Regions from separate parts of the Homo sapiens genome. Here region 1 is linked to region 2. Evidence: promoter capture Hi-C in 16 types of primary human blood cells and fetal thymus (Javierre and others, 2016). All regions are on one chromosome and are shown on one strand. The core of a region is centred on a gene start or on the middle of the fragment in contact, and the rest is flanking DNA. Distances in the headings are between cores, read along the strand shown.

Region 1 (5,907 bases), core at 2,077-4,576, 2.0 Mb after region 2:
CCAAGGCAGGAAGGGTCCAGATGAGGGAGGTCAGAGGGTCACAGCAAGGCAGGCACAGGCAGGGCTCCCGGAGCTGACCCCATGAACACTGACTGTGCACTGGGTTGTGTTCTCTTGCACAGCCTGCTGCCCTGTAGTGGTCCAGGGACAGGCTCTCTAGTTTATTTTTCATTAAAAATGACTTTTATAGAATGTTTTGATTTCAAAAGCAATATCTGGTCTCTGGAGAAAAACTAGAAAATGTAGACAAGCAAAGCAAAGAGAAGAAAATAAAAATACATCCACTATCCTAATCCTGAGCAATAACTACTCTTTTTTCTTTTTTGGAGTTGAAGTCTCATTCTGCCGCTGATCTAGGCTCACTGCAACCTCTGCCTCCCGGGTTCAAGCGATTCTTCTGCCTCAGCCTCCCAAGTAGCTAGGACTACAGGTGCACACCATCATACCCTGCTAATTTTTTGTATTTTAGTAGAGACAGGGTTTCACCATGTTGCCCAGGCTGGTCTCAAACTCCTGACCTCAGGCAATCCACCTTCCTTGGCCTCCCAAAGTGCTAGGATTTCAGGTGTGAGCCACTGCACCCAGCCAGTAACTGCTCTTTATACTTGTTCAGTGTCCATCCGGCTTTTTCCTAGGAGTGCAATATATTTATAGCATCATTTAATAAAATTAAATTTTATACCACATACCTATATAACCTTTTAAAAACTCAATTGGCATTATATCATTAATATCTTTTCATGTCAATACTCTACAATCTGGGTTTTAATGATTATGTAATATTCCATTGTATGGGCATGCAAGTACTTTAATTTACCAATCCCTTACTATTGGACATTTAGGCTGTTTTCCAATTTTCACTACTCTAAACAACTGTGACGAACATCCTTTTGCATAATTACTTATCCACATTCTCATTTTCTTACCTGGGTTACATTTCCAAAGGTAGGATTACCTCATCAAAGGATATGCACATTTTTAAGGCTTTGATGCACATTGCTTCACTAACCTCAGGAAAAGTAGTGATAAATTATACCCCAGGGATGGCTATTGTCCCCAGGGACAATGCTGATCTTTATATGCAGGGTCTAGAGCAAAGCATTGCATATAATAAGAGCTGATTAAATATGCATAGATTGTAATTTGAGCATAATAAATCCAGACTCTTTCAAGCACACTATCTGCAGTTCTTCTGTCTGCTGTTAGCCCTCCAAGAGACAGAGTAAAGAATTGTTCATAAAAATGAGAGAAAGGTAAGGGATGATGAAAAGAAAGTGGAACAATATCTCAGGGGAGTGTGCCATTTAATAATACCCTAGGTCATTACACAGCACTTTCACTGAAATATAGGTGTTAATGGCCCACTTATGAACATTTCTACTCCAACATAAATTAGAGTCTAAATTATTTAAACCATCCCAATGTAACCATACCAGGCAAAAGTCGGGTACATAGAAGTACCATGGCTTAGAGGTAAAAGACCATGGAGAAAATAATTATCATAATATCCAACCTCCCAATAAACATGATGGAATTGCCACTTGGGAATCCACACCCTCCCTTCAATATCCAACGTAACCAGCTTAGGGAAAGCACTTCAAAGAAGTGTGGGTGAAGATAAAGGAACACTTAGTTACAATCTGAGCTCACCCTGCAAGCTTTGATTTCTGACTATTCTTAGGACTTGTTTCTTTCAAATCCTCAGACTAGAGGGCTTGGTTCATTTTGACAGAGAAAGATAATCATTGAAAAACAGAAGGAGGTTTGGTTTAGCCTTACAATGGTTTCTATGTTAAGCCTCACAAATGAAAGTCATATTAAACTGGATTTATTCATCCCTGACATCAAAGAAAGGAGAATGAAGGAGAAAAAAACGTATTAAAACTTGCAAAAAATAATCTTTCTATAAAACCTGACATTTATGAACATAACTCAAAGAAATACCTAAAAATTAATCTGTGGATTACACCAATTTAAAATGTATGGGAAGAATACAAGTAGGAAGAGGGGGAAAACAAACAAAGGGAAATATATTGACATTCTGAAGTCTCTTTTCATTTAACAACAAATATTTTCAAAGAACACAAGGCTTTCTCAGTCATTAACAATTCATTTTTTTATAAGCTACATTCAATTTTAATCATCTACAATATATGAAAAATCCCCCTCAGGATTACCTGCACAAAATTGCAAAAGAAAAAAAAATTGTAAGATTATATGACAGTTTCAAAGCTGAATTACAAATGTATGCACCCAGCAGCAGATAAAAATGAAGGAGAATACGGGAATGATTAAGTTTTCAATTTCCCTACAATGACTTGATGTTAATTTCAATTCACTTACAAGCCTCTTTGTAAAGGATTAATAAAGAAAAGAAATAATCTGATGGTTTGACAACATGAAGGTACTGGGAAATTATTTCCCTGAGAGATTGTCATTTAGAAGCTGGATAAGTTTCTGATTCACTTGCGGCCTCAGTTTCTCATCTTTAAACTGGGAATTGGGAAATGACAATGATGATTCCCCAGTAGGATTCATGTGAGGATTTCATGAGATGATGGAATTCAAATGTTGTGCAGATGGCAGGGACTCACTTAAAAATAGCCATTTTTATTGACATGGGCATGGCAAAAATTTAAAGTGCCTGTGATAAAGATCATCAGTGAATCTCATACAATAGACTTTTCTAAACTTTGCCCTTCCTTCTCTTTAATTCTTTGATATCTACAGTATAACCAGTAATATGTTCTGCTTTGAGTGTCTTAAGATGGAAAACATCAACAAGCAACAATACTTTGCATTGAGTACTTACTACATGCCAGGTGCTTTATGTCATCTCAAACAGTCCTCACAACAAACCTATTGCGTAGGCACTACTCATCTTAGTTTGCCAATAACAAAATTGAGACCTAAATAAGTTAAGGAGTTTTCCAAATGGCTGGAGGCAGCACAGAGGTTAAAAGCATGAGCTCTGGAGCCAAGCTGCCTCAGTTTCCCTATTGAGGGAAATTGGGATGGGTAGTATATTTGACAGTGTTCTCTAGAGAAATAGAACTAATAGGATGTGGGTGTGGGGGCGCTGAGGGGAAGCAGTGTGGGAGAGAGAGAGACTTTATGTTAGGGAATTGGTTCATGCAATGGTGGGGGCTGGAAAATGCAAACTTTGCAGTGGTGACTGGCAGTCTGGAAATTCCAGCAGAAGTTGATTGTTGCAGTTTTGAGTCCAAAGGCAGTCTGGAGGCAGAGTTCTGTCCTCCTGGCGGGACCTCAATCTTTTTTCTTAAGGCCTTCAACTGATTGGAGGAGACCTACTCACATTAAAGAGGGTAATGTACTTTACTCAAAGTCTACTGATTCAAATGTTAATCACCTAAAATCACCTAAAAAAATACCTTCCCAGCAACATCTGGACTGGTGCTTGACCTAGCAACTGGGTGCTACAACCTACCACATTGACACATAAAATTAACCACCACTGGGGGTAAGAACATTACCTACCTCGCATGGTTTGGAAGGATTAAATAATATAAATCATGCACAGTACTTGGTATGCCTGAGGCCCTCAGTGTCTTTATTTTCTTATGGACAGAGCCTGCTAAGGAGGAAGCAGTCCATAGGTGTTAGCTATTGTTATAAAGGGACACAGCCATATTAGAACCCAGGTCATTTGCCTCCAGAGCTGATTGTCAACTTTTAAACCTGTACTGTCCAATATGATAACAGTCAGAGAGATGTGACTACTTACCATGTGTACGTGGCTAGTGTGACTAAAATTTAAATCTCATTTCAAAACCAAAGCACAGTAATTTGTTTGTTTGTTTGAGATGGAGTCTCCCTCTGTCACCAGGCTGGAGTGCAGTGGCACGATCTCGGCTCACTGCTATCTCCGCCTCCCAGGTTCAAGCCCCCCTCCCCTGCTTCAGCCTCCTGAGTAGCGGTGACTACAGGCTCGCACCACCACGCCCGGCTAATTTTTTGGTAGAGATGGGGTTTCACCATGTTGACCAGGATGGTCTTGATCTCTTGACCTCATGATCCGCCTGCCTTGGTCTCCCAAAGAGCAGAGTGAATTTTTAAGCATTGAAATGGCCTGAGTACTAGATATATTTAGTTAAATAAAATATACTATCAAAATTAATTTCATCTTTTACTTTTTGCTTTTGTAAATGTGGCTACTAGAAAAATCTAAATAACACACATGGCTTGCATCATATATTTCTTGTACGGTGCTACTCTAAGCATGGCGCCTTCCCAGGGGTACACAGGCCTGGCGTGTGAACACAAGCCCTCCACAGGACAGGCTAAGCAGCGAAAACACTGCACCAGTGCATCTTAACGTCAGCGAGGCTACCCAACTTCTTAAAAAAAAAAATCTTAACAGTAGCACCACCCACAAAGGAAATAAGTAAACTGGACTTTATTAAAATTAGCTCTTTTGCCTATCAAAAGACACTACTAATAGGGTAAAACAGCAAACTACAGATTTGGAAAAGATATTTGCAATTCATATAGCCAAACAGTGGACTTATATTTAGGATATATAACAAATTCCTGTGAATCAATTTTTTAAAAAAGGAATAAAACTCAATAGAAAAATGTGTGAAATATTTGAACAGGCATTTTAGAAAACAAGGTGTCCAAATGGCCAATAAACACATTACATGCAAATTAAAACATAATGGCTGAAATGAAAATGATGGAAAAATATCAAATGCTGACAAAGATGAAACAACTGAAATTCTTACATATCGCTAGTATGGTATAAATTGGTATGACCATGTTGGAGGATTTTTTTTTCCTGCCAAGTAAAAGCATGCTTCCTTCCACTAACACCCCCCTCGGTGCAGGAAAATTAATCTCTAACTTAAAAAGCCAGCGTTTCAAAATGTATAAAATAATGAGGCAGAGAGAAGGCCTCGGGCCTTGCCACACTGGAAGGTATCATCAGCAGTTAATTGAGCCACAGGGAGGCTGAGAGCAGGATTGCAAATATGGTAAGCTTCACAAATGACAAAATATAGTGCCTGACCTTTTTAAAGCAGATCTCGTGGGCTCCTCACAAACTGCAGGGCATTCTTTGAGGTCGGGAACCAGAGGGGCCCTGCAAGGGGCTTTGGTGAGGCAGGCGAGAGTCTGCTAGGAGAGTTGCTTTCACATTAAGCCATAAAACAATTTTCTTTGGAAAAAAATGTGTTTGTAACAAATGCCCCGCAGAATTATACTACATCACTGAAAACTGAACATTTGCAAAGCTTTGCTCAGGACTTTGTTATCATGCTCTGCCCTAAATCTAAGAGTAAAGAGTTATTCTTGTCAGGCATCTGCTTTTGAAGTTCCTGGCTAAGTCAAATAGTGCATGAGGCTCCACAGCAGCTCTTAATCAGGAAAACGGAGAGATGATTGTCGTTAACATAAAACACGGAACCCTGGGACCAGCTTTCTGTCTGCCCCAAAAACCAGCTGCTTCCAAGCCCCTCTAATTCCTGGTTCTCTGGGAAGGTGCTAGTCCAGTGACTTTTATCCAGGGGTCCACGGACCCGTAACATGTTTGTGGAGGGAATTCAGGGGTCTGTGAACTCAAATGAGGAAAAATATATCTATGTTTGCTAACTTCCAACCGAAATGTAGCACTTTGGTTTGGAAAGCAGGCAACAAACCATAGTAATGTTATCAGTCCTCATTGTCACCAATAGAAATCACCGACATTTTCATGTATTACAGTTGCTACAGATATGTTGAAATCAAGCTCAGGCTCATCTGTGCAGCAAAATTGGCAATTAGATCCACTATTAGACCTTGTAACATAAAAGCATAAATAAAGAAGCATATATCGGCCAGGTATGGTGGCTCACGCCTGTAGTCCCAGCATTTTGGGATGCTGAAGCAGGCAGATCACTTGAGGTCAGG
Region 2 (5,817 bases), core at 170-2,669:
TATTCTGCCTGAACCAGCACCTGAGCTCCAAACCTTTTTTTCACCTGGTTGGTTGCTCTCTCCTGTACATATGCATTCATACACCCCCATTATCCTGTATTTTAATTGTTAACCTGCCAATAATATCTCACTATATTGCACACTGCCCAATGGTTACATTTCCATACCCAGAGACTATCAGAGTACCAGGCAAAAAGCAAATAAGCCATATATTTTTAATGAAATGAATGTTCAGTCTTCAGGCCTTTAAGAAAAGCTGTTCCTGGAATGAAGAAAAAAAAAACACCAATGCTGTGGTTGTTTCTACATTTCTATAGCGTGGTGTTTAAACACTTAGCAACTGCTCTCCTGCATACACTTGTGTAGAGAAGTGGTTAAACAATATTCTCATCCTTCTTTTCCCAAGGAGAAAACCAAAAGCATACCAACCTTAAATAACACACACAGAGGGCAATCTTGAAAGACCTAAAATGACATATCTAGCAAGAAGCTGGCAGCCAAGCTTGACGCCTGCCTGCCTGCCTGTTGGTTCACTAGAAGAAAGTGGTTCTCAAACTTTAATATGTATACCAGTCACCTGAGGCTATTGTTAAAATGTAGTCTGATTCAGCAGGTTGCGGGGGAGAGGGAGAAGAGCCGAGAATGTGCAGGTCTAAAAAGCTCCCAGGTGATGCCAATGTTTCTGGTCTCCAGACCTAGACCTCTAGCTTAGACCTGTGCTGACCAGTACGTTAGCCACATGCGGGTATTAAGCCCCTGAAATATGACTAGATAAGCTGTCAGTGTAACATGCCGATTTCCAAGACTTAGTTAAAAAAAAAAAAACTAAACTATCTCAATGATTTGTACAGACCACATTGAATTAATATTTTGTGTACTTTGAGTTAAATAAAATGTACTAGTAGGGTTACTTCCCTCTATATTTTACATTCCACACGTGGCTCGCATTATAGTGCTACTGGACAGCGGTGCCCTAAACTAACAACCGTCTCCATTCTGAAGCTTCCACTATTGTGAGACTTTAAGAATAAAAGCAACACCTCTCTTCCCATAGGTGGTTCGAAAGCACACCTTTTGTTCCCCAACTATCTACCAGAAATAAAACGAAAAAACAAAGATTTAAAAAACAATAAAATTGAGTCCTTTCACTTCTGCTTAAGCGCCACCTAAGCCACTGCTTTTGTCTCCCTCCGGTTCCCACGCTCCGAGATCGTATCACCCACAGAAAAACAATAACTAAAAAGCGGTCTCCATCCCTGAAGCCAAGCTGGGAGAGTAGCCGAAGGTCGCGCTTCCTGGCCGCCAAAACCGAGGTGGAGGAAACTTGGTAGTCAGCGAGCTACGCCCTCTCGGCTCCTCCTCCTGCTCCTCCTCCAGGGCCGACCTCTTCAAGATGGCGGGCGCCGGAGACTAGCTTCCGCTTCCGGTGTGAGCGGCCCGGCCGGGGGGGCAAGATGGCGGCGGCAGTAGGGGTTCGTGGCCGGTACGAGCTGCCGCCTTGCTCCGGCCCAGGCTGGCTCCTCAGCCTTTCCGCCTTGCTGAGTGTGGCGGCACGAGGGGCCTTCGCCACCACGCACTGGGTCGTCACGGAGGACGGGAAAATCCAGCAGCAGGTAGCGGCCGGGGCGTCCCTCTTCTCCCGTGCCCGCCCTCGCCCCGGGGGGATTACCCTGCTTGGCCCCTGGCTGTTGGGCTCCGCGCGGCCCCGCCCCCAGCCTACCCTCACAGGGAGGTGGCACCGCGACCTCGGACTCCCTGCATTCGGACCAGGCAGGCACTTCCCGCTCCCCACTTGTCTCCTGGTCCTCGTTTGGCCCCCTAGAAGTTCTCACCCTTCCACCTCGCGGGCCGCGCGCCGCGTGGGGAAGAGTCGCCCAGCTGCGGGAGACGGGCCCTACGGACCTTTTTTTAGCTCGGGGTTTAGAAATCACAGATTTCAGGATTCCTGCCTTTGGTGCCTCTCGGGTTCACGCGTCACCGGCCCTCCCCGAGGAAATAGAAAGCAGGTGGCAGCTCCAGGGTGTGCGCGAGTCCCATGGTATGACAGCTTCTGGACCCCTAGCCTGTGGACCATTCGTGCTGCTCCCCTAGTCTCGTCTACCACATGGTGGATTTCGTTTCTGGTTGTGTTGGTTTCAGCTTGTACCGTTACTCAGGTCAGCAGTGGCTCATTAGAAACAACATAGAAACACTCCCCTTCAGAAGGAATGCTTGAAGATGCCGCTGGTGGCGTTGCCTGCATCTTTTCAGCTGTTACTGCCCTCGTTTCCCAGTGCACTTTGCTTTGTTTCTTTACCTAGTTCTTGTGACCCAGCCTCGCATGGAGGATATGCGATTTCCTGGATTCTTGTATGCCTGAACTAATTCCTCAGAGGCGAGACTGCTTTTCTTATATAACTTTATGATTGCCTGCGTTTTGTAAATGCTGCTGATGCCTAACGAGTGCGTGTGTGTGTTCCGCTACAGAATATTGGTAAACTTACTGACTTCGAACACTTGAGGACAATCTTGAAGTGTCTAGCAAACATTTAGAAAGTGAATTGTGTGCCCCATGCAATTTAGCCCACTGATCTAAAACGTTTTAACTAGTGTGGTGGGAAATTACTGGTCCTTTGGATTGTGTGTAATGAATCATGATAGGAACACATTCCAACGTTTAAGGTGAGGTTTAGATTTAGATTTGCCGTGTAATGTAATTGCAAATTCTATCTCAAGTAAGTTAAGTATAACTAAAAATCCGCCTAGGTATTCATGAGTGGTTTTCAGCATATCTAAGAAAAGACCGTGTTCCTATTGGGTAACGTTTTCTATATGACATACATAAAGAACAGTTTCCTTTTCATTGCCATACTATCTGAGACTTTAAATATATGTGTATGTGTTTCAGAAACCCAAGAAAACACTGTAAGACCATATGTGAGTGCTGGTTGCTTCCACCCTTCTTTTGTTTCTTGATAGTGGTTTTCCCTGAGGTCTCTATGAAGACGTGGAATTAAGTCACTCCTGCTGCATTTTGGGGAGCCTTTCTCCTGTTGGCTCTTCTGCAATATTGTTTTTGGCCACAGCTATTTATACTCTATGACATTGACTTCTCCTTCCCATTTTGGTGTCCTACCACTCAGCTGAAAAAGTAGCCCATCTAAAAAGTGAAAGCTGGTAGAAATGTTTTATGTATATACTTAACATTGCAATGGGAAAGTAGAGTCTGATTTTTTTTTTTTTTTTAACAAATTCCTTCTTTTTGCACTTTGGATACATATGTATTAATGGGGGAAGGCAGGGGTTACTGGAAACTTGCCTCAGAGAAGCAGGGAAGAGCTGAAGAATCTTTTGGATCTCTGCCAAGTCACTGCTGAGCTAAGTAATTAGGCTTAAAGTTTAAAAAGCAAGATTTCTCTATTACATGACTTTTTAAGTGATCCTTTTCATTGAATTTTCCAATACTTTGCTATACATAACATTTACAATGTTATGTTCAGGCAGCCACAAGATTTTATGCCAGAAGAAATAAGGTTGGTGTCTGCAGTGTAACAATAAGAGGCCAGGGGAGGAAAGTTGGATTTAATCTGAAGAAAAGGCACCACATATAAATAAAGTAAAAGAATTGGGTGCTGTGGTGAGCTGCCGAGTTCCACTCTGATAGCTGATTGTGCATGACCCATGCTTCCCTTCCTGGCCATAATTTGTATGCAGGTAGAATCCAAACTATCAATTTAGATCGTGATTAATTATAATATTTGTATATACTGTACTTAAGGACTTGAAAGATCACATTAGTGTATGAAATCCATATATATTGCAGATTTGTACATTCAGAAACATAATTAAAAGCTTAGTATATACAGATGCTCCTCAGCTTATGAAGGGGTTATGTGCTGATAAACTCATTGTAAGTCGAAAATACTGTAAGTCAAAAATGCATTTAATGTACCTACCAAACATTGTAGCTTAGCCTAACCTACCTTAAACGTGCTCACAATACTTACATTAGCCAAATTTGGGCAAAATCATCTAACAGCATCTTTTACAATAAAGTATCAAAATACCTCATGTAATTCATGAATACTTCACTGAAAGTGAAAAACAGAATGGTTATATGGGCACTCAGTACAGTTGCTACCAAATGCATGTCACTTTTGCAGCATTGTAAAGTCAAGAAATTATAAGTTGAACCATCGAAAGGTGGGGACCATCTGTATACTTTGTCCTGACATACCAAATTCTTGCTGCTTATTCTTGGTTACAATATTTGAATGAGAGCATAAGTGTGATTTCAGTTTTAAAGTGACCTACTACCAGGCAAAGGGCTAAGGGCTAACTGGATTAACAGCTTTTAGAAAATTAGAGTGGTACATACCTTTTGAGAACCTTTAATATTAAACACACCCAGATTAGATATATGGGTCATTGTTTTCCACAGTGATCATAAAGAAGTACTTATGACTTAAAAATCTGAATTGTCCAACCATCATTATAACTTTTTTTTTTTTTTTTTTTGAGATGGAGTTTTGCTCTTGTTGCCCAGGCTGGAGTGCAATGGCGCTATCTTGGCTCACCACAACCTCCGCCTCCCGGGTTCAAGTGATTCTCCTGCCTCAGCATCCCGAGTAGCTGGGATTACAGGCATGCACTACCACACCCGGCTAATTTGTGTGTGTGTGTGTGTGTGTGTGTGTGTGTGTGTGTGTGTGTGTATTTTTAGTAGAGACAGGGTTTTACCATACTGGACAGGCTGGTCTCAAACTCCAAACCTTGTGATCCGCCCACCTTGGCCTCTCAAAGTGCTGGGATTACAGGCGTGAGCCGCTGTGCCCGGCCATTATAACTTTTTAAGTACATCAAGGAGTCTTTCCCAGGAGAGATGAAAATTCATTTGATTTTTTATATTTCAAGGTTTAGCAGACAATAAAGATAGGCACCCACCAGTTACATACCGCAGACTTGTCAACATGCGTATGTATTGGAAATGGTACATCCTTTGGTGGGTTGAAAAGGGGGTTAAGTAAGAGCAAGGAGCATACATTCCTGCAGGCAACCTCTTCACAGTCAGAGCTGGGGCTGCTGCAGGCAGCAGCTGGTGTCCATTACTTGGCATGATGGTTAAAGGAATTATTTCTTTTTCTTTTAGAGATGGGGGTCTTTCTTTATTGCCCAGGCTGAAGTGCATGGTTACTCCCATGCATTGCAGCCTTAATTGATCTTCCTACCTCAGCCTCCTGAGTAGGTGGGACTACAGGCTTGTGCCACCATGCCCAGCAAGTTGTTGCATTTCACAATCCCTGCCTCAGCTAGGAAGCATACCTTCCCCAATTTTTAGGTTATGTTTACTGAGCTGCCACTGAATTCCCAAATATGGTCCAGGGAATCCTGGAGCTGGGATGTGGAGAGAACATTCCAATCACTAAGTTCCTTTTCCACTGGTGTCAGGGGAAGGCTAAGAGAAACCCCGTCTTCTTCTCCTCTCCGCTCTGTGCTGTTTTCCTAGCTTTGGGCTTTGACATACCTCTGATGCCCTAGTGTCTGTCGCTGGTACCTGAAACCTAGTAAGCCCATCTCACTTTATTTAAGCAGGGGTCCTTAACTTCGACCCCATGGACTTAAGAAGTGAGCTATTATAATCTAGTTACTAAAAGGAGCACTAGCGTAATCAGGCCTGTGGCTCTTTTGGTTGACTTTTTGAAAAATAGGTTTCAAGATAAATTTTGTGTTGTTTCATTTTGATGTTGTTTTTGCTTAATCCCTAGTTTGGCAATATCTACTTTCTGTATTCTATTTTCTATTTTTTAATCAGTGTCTGGTAATTTACTTGCATCAAAG

Evidence for each region. Contacts are between HindIII fragments. The CHiCAGO score rates a contact against its expected background, and 5 or more counts as called.
Region 1: a contact is called between a fragment that was not itself captured here and the fragment with the promoter of TTC17 in region 2, in 2 of 17 cell types (naive CD4 T cells and fetal thymus). The highest score is 7.9, in naive CD4 T cells.

What each region holds. Positions count from the first base shown.
Region 1 is chr11:45,342,534-45,348,440 of GRCh38, forward strand. No RefSeq gene overlaps it. Among named protein-coding and RNA genes, the nearest start is that of LINC02696, 9.9 kb to the right of the region's middle. RefSeq lists an enhancer at 4,740-5,278. The HindIII fragment of the contact is 3,341 bases long and covers 1,657-4,997 here.
Region 2 is chr11:43,357,501-43,363,317 of GRCh38, forward strand. TTC17 (tetratricopeptide repeat domain 17) reads left to right here and starts at 1,420. Exons shown (of 24, transcript NM_018259.6): 1 at 1,420-1,613. The coding sequence starts at 1,455. RefSeq lists an enhancer at 1,279-1,548 and a silencer at 1,679-1,758. The HindIII fragment of the contact is 2,829 bases long and covers 1,001-3,829 here.